Linked DNA regions of Homo sapiens: regions 1, 3 and 4 are each linked to region 2. Evidence: promoter capture Hi-C in 16 types of primary human blood cells and fetal thymus (Javierre and others, 2016). All regions are on one chromosome and are shown on one strand. Each heading gives the region's core, a stretch centred on a gene start or on the middle of the fragment in contact. The rest is flanking DNA. Distances are from core to core; before and after follow the strand shown.

What was found. Contacts are between HindIII fragments. The CHiCAGO score rates a contact against its expected background, and 5 or more counts as called.
Region 1: a contact is called between a fragment that was not itself captured here and the fragment with the promoter of IFNE in region 2, in 10 of 17 cell types (naive CD4 T cells, endothelial precursors, total CD4 T cells and 7 more). The highest score is 11.8, in naive CD4 T cells.
Region 3: a contact is called between a fragment that was not itself captured here and the fragment with the promoter of IFNE in region 2, in 10 of 17 cell types (endothelial precursors, naive CD8 T cells, naive CD4 T cells and 7 more). The highest score is 13.4, in endothelial precursors.
Region 4: a contact is called between a fragment that was not itself captured here and the fragment with the promoter of IFNE in region 2, in 4 of 17 cell types (non-activated CD4 T cells, naive CD8 T cells, naive CD4 T cells and 1 more). The highest score is 6.2, in non-activated CD4 T cells.

The regions. Positions count from the first base shown.
Region 1 is chr9:21,780,799-21,783,896 of GRCh38, reverse strand. No RefSeq gene overlaps it. Among named protein-coding and RNA genes, the nearest start is that of MTAP, 20 kb to the left of the region's middle. The HindIII fragment of the contact is 2,517 bases long and covers 205-2,721 here.
Region 2 is chr9:21,480,668-21,483,814 of GRCh38, reverse strand. It overlaps IFNE (interferon epsilon), which reads left to right and starts at 1,502. Exons shown (of 1, transcript NM_176891.5): 1 at 1,502-2,976. The coding sequence starts at 2,121. The coding sequence ends at 2,747. All of the region lies in intron 1 of MIR31HG (MIR31 host gene), which reads left to right. The HindIII fragment of the contact is 2,296 bases long and covers 1-1,755 here.
Region 3 is chr9:21,797,234-21,800,307 of GRCh38, reverse strand. No RefSeq gene overlaps it. Among named protein-coding and RNA genes, the nearest start is that of MTAP, 3.9 kb to the left of the region's middle. The HindIII fragment of the contact is 2,027 bases long and covers 549-2,575 here.
Region 4 is chr9:21,751,749-21,754,632 of GRCh38, reverse strand. All of the region lies in intron 1 of LOC107987026 (a long non-coding RNA gene), which reads left to right. Among named protein-coding and RNA genes, the nearest start is that of MTAP, 49 kb to the left of the region's middle. The HindIII fragment of the contact is 4,259 bases long and covers 1-2,884 here.

The sequences.
Region 1 (3,098 bases), core at 214-2,713, 300 kb before region 2:
CCCTCTCCTCCTGCCAAAAGAAAAGAAAAGAAAAGAAAACAGAAGGACAAAACTCACAAGGCCCTAAGAGCAATTCCAGAGAAAAACAGAAAGAAAACGAAGTTATCTGAAGCTCAGATAAGAGGGGAAATAAGAGTTGAAAGAAAAGCTTAAAAATTGGAAGAAAAGCAAGAGGTTTGATTCAATTGAAGGACTCAACAAGCTTTTCCTCCCCAAATTCTTGCTACATATAATGGCATGATATAGAGCTAAGTATATTTTATGAATTATTTTATTTATTTCTCAAAGTAATATAAGATGTCTACTCATATTATGCCCATTGTACAGATGAGATCACAATCAAGTCTGGACCAAGTCTGTGTGAGACCAGAGGTACACTTGTAGCTATTGTCCAAGATTGGACAGTAAATTATATGACACCCTAGCTGTAGGGTCCACTTGAATGAATAAGACACAGATTTTGGCCTCTAAGGAGCTTATACTCTACTAGAGGAAGTCAACCTGAAAACAAATAATTTTAATTCAAAGCAGAGTGACATGAGAGTGTACTTAAGGAGCAAAGTGGGAGGTTTATGGCCCAGAGAAGAAGCACTTAATTCTGATTTGTGGGTGGGTTTAAACAACCAGTGTTAGGGAAGAAATAAATGAGAATGTAGTTTTCCCCACCAATTTTTTGTGTGTGTGTCCTAGAAACAATTCCTGAAAAGGGATCTTACAGCCGGACAGACTGATTAGAGGTGAATATATTCTAACCTCTGCCTTACATAGAAATTAAATCCTAGCAAACCCTGTATAGGTTTAAGGAAGTAAATTTCTATTCCCACGCAAGGCAGCAGGTACTTCCTAGTCATTTCAAATCATGATCACTTTAAGGAAAACCAAAAACGCTGACTGGAATTTAAAAAAAAGAACTTTCAGCTGGAGGCCTGTGAAATCTTTCCTAAATTTTTGTTTAAATTGTTATAAATTTGATGCTGAATCATACTTTATTTACAAAAACATCCTGTGTCCCAGTGAAATCTTTCTTTATGCCATTTCCAATTAGACCCACTTTCTTAAAAATAAATTTGTAACACAGTTTTTTTAAAAGAGAAATCTCAACTAGCAGATGTATATTATATATATTATCAAATAAAATATAATGTCATGTATAAAATACATAAATTTTCTCCTTCAACATAGAAATGCCTCTTAATATATTAAAATTATTCCTTTATAAATTATATCTATATAATTTGTCTCAGCGTAGCATTAAAGATGGTTAATGTAATCTAGTGTTTTGCACTTTCTAGAAAAAAAAAATCCCATTAGGAGAAATTCAAAATGTTTTACAAATATGCCAGGGAGTAGGTTTTAATCATTGCCCTTCTCTTCACCTGGACAGGAAGTGAAAACAAGACTGTTGGTTGAAATGACTTATGCAAAGGTGAGAAGCACTAACAAAGTTTAGCCCTGACTCTGCTAACGCCGTCATTCTGTCCCAGAAGCCATGTCATCTAACTGCTGGTCAGTCATGAAGAAAGCATTTCTGGAGCCTCACCCCTAAGTGAATTTGCTTGGCAATAGGTAGAGGGGATAAATTAGTGACTTCCTTTTACCTACTGAACAACTTGCTGAGTATCTTGTACTTAACCCAGGTCACTGAGATACAATCTAAGAAAAAAAAAATCAGCACATTCCAAAGAGAATGAAAGCAGTTTCTATTCCAAAGATAAATCAATGGAGTTGTCACAGGTGGAAATTAGTTTCTGTGTATTTGTTGTTTTCTTCTTCTGTCTCAGGTCTCTTTGATTATCGCTGAAGACTTATAGGAAAAGCCCCTAAAATATTTAAATGATTATATATTGGAAAATTTTTTTAAAGAATATTGATTCTTAGGAATGAGCTAGATAAGAGGACTAGTTTGGAGAGATTAATCAGCATTTGGGGTTTACTGAAAATGTCACCACAATCCAGCGGCCCCAAACTATGCAAGACAAACCAGTATATTATTTCTCTAAAAGGAATCTAAACTGAGTGTATACACACGATGACACTCAGATTTACCTTTGTTCTTGAGTGAAAGCAAAAGAGATTGGTATGTCATCTGTTAACAATGTTCAAGTTAGAGAATTCCCTGCAGGATTTTATTTATGAAAAGGTAAAAAAAGGTTGTTACACATTTTTTTCTAACCTATGTCTCTGCAATCAAGGAAAGTATGATTTTCTATAATTTGATTGTAGTTATTTCTTTAGTGTAGGAGTGTTCACCTACAGTAGAGTGCAGTGTGTTCACCAGGTAAATGAGAACATATGATAATAATCTTTGTCCCAACAGGCACGGTAGAGCTGATAGTTCCTGGAAGCTGGTGGCATTAACTCTCTTTAATCAAGGTATAGGTGAAACTGGTTTATTAGGAATGATACTAGGATGTGGAGTGCTGATCCTTGTTTTCCCAGGTGCTTTTTAGACTAAGTAATCCTCAAAGAGTTAGAGAAATACTACAGAATTTGGTAAAGCACTACAGAGATATGTTTTCTACACATTTAGCTTTTTTGGAGTGGAAAAGATTACAGAAAATTCCTTCTTTTAAAAATAATTTGAGCAATATTTCAATCATAATATAGGACAGCATGAAAAAAATAATCTATAGTTCTATTTTCATGAGGTCACATTGCATAGGTTTGAATTCCACCTATTCCCTTTTGTAGCTGAGTGAACTTGAAAAAACTTATTAAGCTTCTTTGCACTTCAGTTTCCTCACCTATAACATAGAGATATTAATAGTAGCTAACGAATGAGGTTGTTTCAGGATTATATTAGATTAAATATACAAAGTACTTAGAACAGTGCTTGACACATCGTAAGTGCTTAGCAAATATTAGCTACTACTATTATCAATTTTGAAATGAATATATTAAGAACGTAGCTCCTTTTTAAATTATACTTTAAGTTCTAGGGTACATGTGCACAACGTGCAGGTTTGTTACATATGTATACATGTGCCATGTTGGTGTGCTGCACCTATTAACTCATCATTTACATTAGGTATATCTCCTAATGCTATCTCTCCCCTCTCCCCCCACCCCATGACAGGCCCCGGTGTGTGATGTTCCCC
Region 2 (3,147 bases), core at 253-2,752:
AGCTTAACCTATTTGACATTTATAAAACAGTCCAACCAACAAAAGTAGAACATTATTATTTCAAGTTCACAAGGAACTGTCACCAAGATAAACCATATTCTAAGCCATAAAATAAGTCTCAATAAATTTAAACTACATTCTTTAACCACAACAGATTCAAATATGAAATCAGTAACAGAAAGGCATCTGGAAAATCCCTGATCATTTGGAAATTAAACAACATTTAGATCATTTTTGTCAATTGAATGAAAATGATGAGAAAGCCTTATAGATCAGAGCTCGTTGTTATTAGATGGAGTAACTTCTGATATTCTTAATTTATTTTTATATTGTTTTCCCGAAGCTCAGCATTAAATATTTAAAGATTTTTTGAGACTAGTCAAAATTCTACTTTCCAGATAGATTGAGCATAATGTTATGAAACAAGTGTTATTCCTTTCGTATATTATATATTATCATATGTCTTTTCTCTCTCTTTCTCTTTCTCTCTCTCTCTCTCTCTCTCTCTCTCTCTCAGATAGGGAGGGAAAAGACCCTCTGTGGAGCATGCTGACTGAGTTTATTTCAACTTATTAATACTAGACTAAGTGACCAAACATACAGCTGAGCTGGTATATAATGAGACCATACATGTTTACAGAGTGCCTGTTTTTGACATTTAGGGATTCACCCAGCTGCCTGCAGAGAAATGATTAAAGATAAGACTCAACATCTTGTATTACTTTGTGTAGAACATATTAATTTATTCCAAGTCAACACATATTTATTAAGCAACTACTATAGTTGTATAGACAGCAAAGAAATCAGTAATCAGTGTTTATTTCACACTCTGAAGAGACTTTTAATCATGTAAGTACATAGTCAAGTATAAGACAGAACAAGAAAGGTGTCTTAAATAAGGTAGGTACAAAGTGTTGTGGGGATCCAGAAGATTATGGCTCCTTGGGGGAGATCTGGGCCTTAAAGGACAAGTAGTCTTTAGTCCTTGCACAGAAAGGTTCTTGAGGTAAAGGAGGCAACAGTTGATGTTTCAGAGAAAGCATCATCAATAAACACACACACACACAAGTGCTAGCTGTATTAAGGGAATACTAAATCACTTACTTTATCTGGAGTTCAGATTCCTTCACACTATATTTAGAGCAACAGTGGGATAAGATTGGAAAGGTATATTGGGGGCTTATTCAAGAGGAACTTAGAATATGGAACTGGGTATTTGTAATTCAAAGGACATTGTTAATGTAGAGATGTTCACATTAGTTTACCAGAGCTATCACTATTCTAGGGAATATACGCTAACCAAATGCCCCCAATCTCTCTTCACATATAATTTTGTCATCTATAATGGATATATATCATTTAATTATATGGCTGTACCAACATATATGTAATCATTCACCTGTCGTTGAACCTATAGGTTGTTTCTAATATTCTGCTTTGCAATAATATTATAACACTCTTCTTTTGCTAATTTTTTTGCATTGCTTCTATAGGCTAGAATCTTAGATATTAAACTGATAGGATAAGATATAAAATAATTTAAGATTGCTGATATATGTTTTAAAATTAATTATTTGCTCAAGCATTTGTGACAATTTACAGTTCTAATTGAGGTTTTAAATTTAGTAGTTTGTAGGTATTTTAAGTTTTGCCCCTGAATTCTTTATAGGTGCTGATAAGCCTTTGGTAAGTTTTACTCCATGAAAGACTATTACTGAAAAAAACGTAATCTCAATAAAAGAACTTTAATAAGCTTGACTAAATATTTAGAAAGCACATTGTGTTCAGTGAAACTTTGTATATAATGAATAGAATAATAAAAGATTATGTTGGATGACTAGTCTGTAATTGCCTCAAGGAAAGCATACAATGAATAAGTTATTTTGGTACTTCCTCAAAATAGCCAACACAATAGGGAAATGGAGAAAATGTACTCTGAACACCATGAAAAGGGAACCTGAAAATCTAATGTGTAAACTTGGAGAAATGACATTAGAAAACGAAAGCAACAAAAGAGAACACTCTCCAAAATAATCTGAGATGCATGAAAGGCAAACATTCACTAGAGCTGGAATTTCCCTAAGTCTATGCAGGGATAAGTAGCATATTTGACCTTCACCATGATTATCAAGCACTTCTTTGGAACTGTGTTGGTGCTGCTGGCCTCTACCACTATCTTCTCTCTAGATTTGAAACTGATTATCTTCCAGCAAAGACAAGTGAATCAAGAAAGTTTAAAACTCTTGAATAAGTTGCAAACCTTGTCAATTCAGCAGTGTCTACCACACAGGAAAAACTTTCTGCTTCCTCAGAAGTCTTTGAGTCCTCAGCAGTACCAAAAAGGACACACTCTGGCCATTCTCCATGAGATGCTTCAGCAGATCTTCAGCCTCTTCAGGGCAAATATTTCTCTGGATGGTTGGGAGGAAAACCACACGGAGAAATTCCTCATTCAACTTCATCAACAGCTAGAATACCTAGAAGCACTCATGGGACTGGAAGCAGAGAAGCTAAGTGGTACTTTGGGTAGTGATAACCTTAGATTACAAGTTAAAATGTACTTCCGAAGGATCCATGATTACCTGGAAAACCAGGACTACAGCACCTGTGCCTGGGCCATTGTCCAAGTAGAAATCAGCCGATGTCTGTTCTTTGTGTTCAGTCTCACAGAAAAACTGAGCAAACAAGGAAGACCCTTGAACGACATGAAGCAAGAGCTTACTACAGAGTTTAGAAGCCCGAGGTAGGTGGAGGGACTAGAGGACTTCTCCAGACATGATTCTTCATAGAGTGGTAATACAATTTATAGTACAATCACATTGCTTTGATTTTGTGTATATATATATTTATCTGTGTTTTAAGATTGTGCATATTGACCACAATTGTTTTTATTTTGTAATGTGGCTTTATATATTCTATCCATTTTAAATTGTTTGTATGTCAAAATAAATTCATTAATATGGTTGATTCTTCAAATGGGTGTATTTTCATACAGGCTGGCTGGGTAGATACAATAAAATATGCCACTAATGTAAAAATACTTTCCTTAACATAGAACTCCATTGCAATGATTTGCTTATTTGCCAGAAATTGCTAGAGACAATGAGAAATATTGGGAATAATTTGCATTTTAAGATTTGAAAATAT
Region 3 (3,074 bases), core at 313-2,812, 320 kb before region 2:
CTTCTAGGTCCTAGCCAACAAAGTACTGAAATGGTTATCACCAGTAGCTGACTATGTTGGGTCTTGAGCAGTGGTTCTTCAGTGTCCTACAGTTCCCTTTTACTAAACATGTTATTTTTGAAGTCGTCTCCAAACCATTCCAGAATCATCAAATCTTCAGGAGGAAGTATTCACACAAATGCATGAAATGTATCACCTCAGCCAACCATATCAGCTTTCCCACTGAATTGTTATATTTCTGCCCCTGACCAGTATGTCTGTCCTGGATGGGTACTACAAAATGGGCCCAAGCTGGCTGGTAACCCATCCTCATCTGAAGGTATTAAAGCTGGCAAGTTGTCATGGCCTAAGAAACTCACATAACTCCCCACTACCTTGTAGATATTTGGGCCAAAATAAAAATTCTAAATAACATGGAGGTGTGCTTAGAGATCCCCAATGGTGTGTGAATCACATCTTTTTACAATACACCTGTATCACAGCCACAATGAGTAGGGACATTTTGGCCACTACTTTTGACAATGGATTAGATTCCCACATTGGAAGCTTTGTGAAAAAGCTAAAGTTCTATTAGCAAGCAGCCACTCTAGATTTAGCAGAACATTGTTGAAAAAATATCTGGGGGAACAATAAGTAAACTAATTATAATAATGACAGTAATACATTTTAAAAATTATTGCATCTTCAGATTCTCAGCCAGGCAAGCCTATGCCAGCATGAAGAAGCCAAAGATGTCTGAACTGGTATAAATTCAGGTTCAAAATCCACAACATCATCGTTGTGCACAGTGTGGTCATTGGGAAGAAAAAAGTTAAACTCAGAGACTCAATGCCCTTAATAAAATTGTATCCAAAGAAACTTCTCCACAGGCAATTATCAGAATAATCAACTTCTCTTTATCCTGCCCAAGAAGGAAAAAAAATGTACTGAAAAGAAAATAGTGGCTAGTGTTTATTAAGAAGCAAAAGATATGCAAGTATGTACCAGGCCAGTCCTAAGGTACCCTTCTGAAAAAACATTGAATATAATTGGATAAATGTATAAGAGATTTGTCTGCAATCCAAGTTCTCTTAACACTCTTGATTGTAAATAACTGAACAAATTATTGATCTAAAAAATACAGCTATGTGTCTTTACCCTGACTCTGCAGTATAGACCATGATACAACATAAACATTAACATTTTAGTAACTAGAGACTTAGATATTTTTGTCATAGAAGGCCTAATTGAACCTTTCTAAATTTCTTATAGGTTAGTATGTGACTATTACTCTAAAACTTTAAGGAAATAAGAACAAAAAACAAAGAGAAGTGTTCCATTCTCCCATTATCATAGTGATAAAACAAAATAAGTAGTATGTCACAAGTGAAGAAAATATTACTGAAATCTAATATTAAAAATGCATTTATTGCAGGTACTTTATAGAGGGAATTGCAAGTGATATACTAGGTTTCTCAAAAAATATTTACATCACATTTTAGGTGGCAATTCCTTATAATGACCTTTAATGAAAGTGGAGAGTCCAGTTATAAAGTGTAACCTGGCATCTGTGTTTTTGGTTGAGGGAAGAACCCCATGCTTTAAAATGAGTTAAGTAGGGTCAGTTTTGACAGTCTGCTTTAAAGTTGGTATGCTCCAGATAGTTGGAATTAGCCATATGTTTCTTGTTGCAATAGAATCAAGTTCTCCTTCAGTTTTCTTTATTCGTTCCTTCTATTCAAAGTCCCTTTTACCCTAGAAATATCCTTCATTGCAAATCACCTTGTCTTGTCTTCAAAGTTCACTTCAAATTGTATCTCCCCTATCATTTCTGAAACTCTACTGAAGATGACTTAAGTTGCATATAATTTGGATTTTTTGAAGTAAAATCTCACCATTTTTTCACTTTTCTTAGATTAATGCTGCACATTAAAAGCATATTCAGGTTAACAGAATGGCCATCTACCCTGGACTCCCAGGATCTTCACATACCTATTATAAATAATAATAGGTATTATTATTTCTGTTATAGGATAAGCAAAGTGTAAGATTAAGCCCTGAACCCTATACCTCCCTCAGTGAAAGAGAGAGTATGTTCAATCTTGATCTGAAGAGACATGATTCTCAGCTTCTGTGCTTTGTATAGAAAAGGGCCAAAAAGTAATAGATACCCAGATGTATTTTAATATCACAGATGCAACATAATCTCTGCTTAGCGTGTCAGGATCTAAAGCTATGATGAAAGACCCATATAATGAGCTCTTATGTGACCCACTGCTCTTTATTCCACTTTAAAAACTTAAGGCAGGAAATAAGTCTAAAAGCATTGCTTTTCTTCTCTGGCAAATCCATATGTTGTCTGTACATACAATCCTAAAAACAAATTGGGAACAAAGTCATATTTGTCTTCTGAGCATCTTCAAGAGCAACAACAAAACAGCTAATATTTATTAAGAGCCACATATTCTTCATTTAATCCTCACAGATATTAATGTCATTGCTATTAATGTAATTTCCATTTTACAGAGGAGGAGAGAGAGAGAAGTTGAATTGCTGTAACTTCATCTTTTCTGCTTATTTGCCTCTCCCCAAAGCTTCCTTGTCCGTTTGGAATCTTCAGGACTTCCCTCTCTCTAGCCCATCAAAATGTCAATCAAACCTATCAAACCTGTTAAGTTGCCAAAATCACCTTAAAATGTTACCTCACCCAGGGGTTTATGAATTTTACAGGTATTAAGCCTTAAATTGAGATAATTAAATTCTAGGTAGGATGTGATGTTTGAGAAAGGACAAGTGTTGGTGTTATTATCACTATCATTGCATGAGGAACATGAGGCTCAGAGCATTTAAGAAGTCTTCTCAAATTTATATAACTAAAGTAATTGAGATTCAGTCCTGAATCTGTCCTAATTGCAAAGTCTAAACTCTTGATTAATTATTATTTTTTCCACTGTTGAGATTCAGATAACAACACCCCAAAAAGGAAGTCCTCAGAAGCAGCCTCAAAAGCGAAAGTTTTTCTCTGACCTTCTCCTGCCTGTCTTTCACGCCCATTATCCCCCTGATGCTACCATAGAAACTAGAATCCTTCTTCC
Region 4 (2,884 bases), core at 335-2,834, 270 kb before region 2:
CTCTATATCCCCACCCAGATCTCATGTCGAATTGTAATTCCCAGTGTTTGGGGAGGGACCTGGTGGGAGGTGATTGGATCATGGGGATGGATTTCCTCCTTGCTGTTATCATGATAGCGAGTGAGTTCTCATAAGACCCGTTTGTTTAAAACTATGTAGCACTTCCCCTTTCCTGCTCTCTCTCCTACTCCTCCATGTAGCACATACTTGCTTCCCCTTCACCCTTCCGCCATGATTGTAGGTTTCTTGAGGCCTCCCAACCATGCTGCCTGTACAACCTGCAGAACTGTGAGTCAATTAAACCTGTTTTCTTCATAAATTACCCAGTATCATGTAGTTCTTTATAGCAGTGTGAGAATGGACTAATACAAACCCATACCACATTTTCCCTTCTCTTTTGAACCTGATCATCTCAGTCACATGATGATCCTGGGTTGAAGTAAATGAAAGTAGAAAAAAATACATAAGAGAGTTTTACTGCCTCATAAGACTTCATTTCAAAAACTGCTAGAGGGCAATATTAAGAATAACAAGGGTGTATCAATCAGGCACTCTTGCTCTCCAGTGCCTCTGAAAGATTTTCTCTCTTGTGAAGTTTAGGCATAAGGATGTGAACTCTAGCCTTAACTGAATCCTCTTGTATTAGAGATTTGGGTAAATCCCTCAAGTTTAATCTTGACCTTTGTTTGGAAAATAAATGGTGGGTCTCCAGTGACAACTTCTGAGAGCTCAGTTTACAAGGAGCTCTGTCAAGGATCCTTAAACACTACACATTTATTTCTTGTGAGAAAATGCTTTAACTCATTGAAGCACAGGGGAAATAAGTTGTTGATAGACCTTCTTCTTCCAAACTGTGTCATGGCAACAACCCTAGACAGGAATCTTGCTTAAACAGCTCTGTTTATCTTCCCTGCCCTGCTCAGCACTGGAATCTTGAGCATAATGGTCAGTTAGAATTTTTCTGACTTGGCTTCTCATCTTTGATGCCTAAAGGGACCTCCTATACTCTAGACTTTATGAACAATACAAGAGTTTTAGTTGAAATAATTGAAACTGGACATTGGGATGGAAACTGTATAGAAGTTATCGTACCTTAAGCATAATTATTTATAAACTCTAAATAAAATAATTGTAGGTATCTGTCAAAATTTCTAACCCTTCCTTTCCAACAGTTAGCCAAGTGTGTGTCCAGTTTGGTTTCACTTGGGATTCTTTTCCTTTGTTATCTATAGCCCATTTATCTCCATAATTCTTGCTGTCCCCAACTGACCTTCATTAAAATGGTCATTTCTTTTTATACCTGTTTGTTAGCAACAGCAAAAAAAAAGAAATCTTGGTTATTGAATTATTTTACTTAGATCTTGAAGTGTATTGAAGGAAGGTGGTGGTCCCTCACACTGTTGGCCTCAAGACCCCTCCAGAATGATTTGCCTTTCTGTCTCTCTGGATCTACTGTTTTTTGCCACTCTTGGGCATCATCTGACTGCTATCTTCCATTCAGTCTGTTCTGTCTGCAATCTCCGTAATAGTAGAACTAGGCGGAATTGTTAATTCTGTTCCCTTTGGAAGGAAGAAAAACTTCCAGACTGAGTTTGAATTGAAAAGTGGATCTTGTACTTGGTAGAGAAATGGACGCCAAGATGGCTTCTATGTAAATACTATCAAATTTCTTCCTGCACTGCTGGGGATATTCAGGGCTATTATTTTTTAAAAAATCATATGTGACATCTGCAGTGTCACAAAGCATTTTAAAGAACATCCAGACATACTCCCCAGAAGCTCTTAAAATGTATAAAAGAATTTAATAGACATATTCTGATACTTTAAGAAGAAATGCATGGAGCATGAAATCCAGCAAACTTCAATAATCAATCAACACAAATACATTTATTGAACACCTGTATCATACTTCCATTGACTTGCCTATATCCTATTAGCAATGATGGATTATATACAAAGAATTATTTTTGCTGTTTGTCATATCATCATTTGTCATATAAGGTGATTTTCATGCAGTTCATGCACACTTTAAAAATGCTTACTATTCAGGTTCTGTCAGATAAATATGGCACAATAAAGAAAACATTTAGAACACTGATAGCAGAGCATATATTTTTAAGATAAATTAGAAGCAAGTGTGTGTGAGTGTATACCTTTTAATCAAGAAGGCCTTGATGTTTCCCTCAGCTTGACTAAACTTGACAGGCTTCTCTCAGATTCTGAGCCCCTGACTTCTTTTTTTCCTAGAGCATTTACAAAAGAAAAAATTGTAATTGTAAATCCTTTCTCTGCCCCTTTGAGATGTAAATATTTTTAAAAGCCTCTTGCCTGTTGTACTACTCAGGGAAGTCTTTCTCAAGTTGCTGGGAGCCAACCCTTTGAAATGTAATCATCATGAAAAATAGCACCCCTGTCTACCAGTCTCTAAGGGAGAGTAGGAGCCTAACTTCAATGGGTGCCAATTAGCCAGCAGAGATGACCTAATCACAGAGAAAAGTATTTTGCAAACTCAGTGTGCTTCACACAACCCAGTGATCAACCTGCCCCCATCCTCCAGTGTTCTCTAGTTCCCTTCCACTAGCTCATACCAGTCCCTAAAGTTCCTCCCACCCCTTGTTATAGTGGAGTTGAGCAGGCTGATTTCTGGCCTCTCTCTCCTATTGTAATTGTCTTGAATAGCATTTGTCCTTGCTGCTTAACTTTGTCGGATGCAATTTTTGCTTTCACAATATGTATGTATACTCACCTTCATATAGCTAACATACAGCTACAGATTGAAAGCCACTCGGAAAAAACAAAAAAAATTAATGCCTCATAATATTATAGTCTCTAAAGGGTTCAGGTTTATGTATGCATTCTGGGGTACATATTTTATGAGAACATA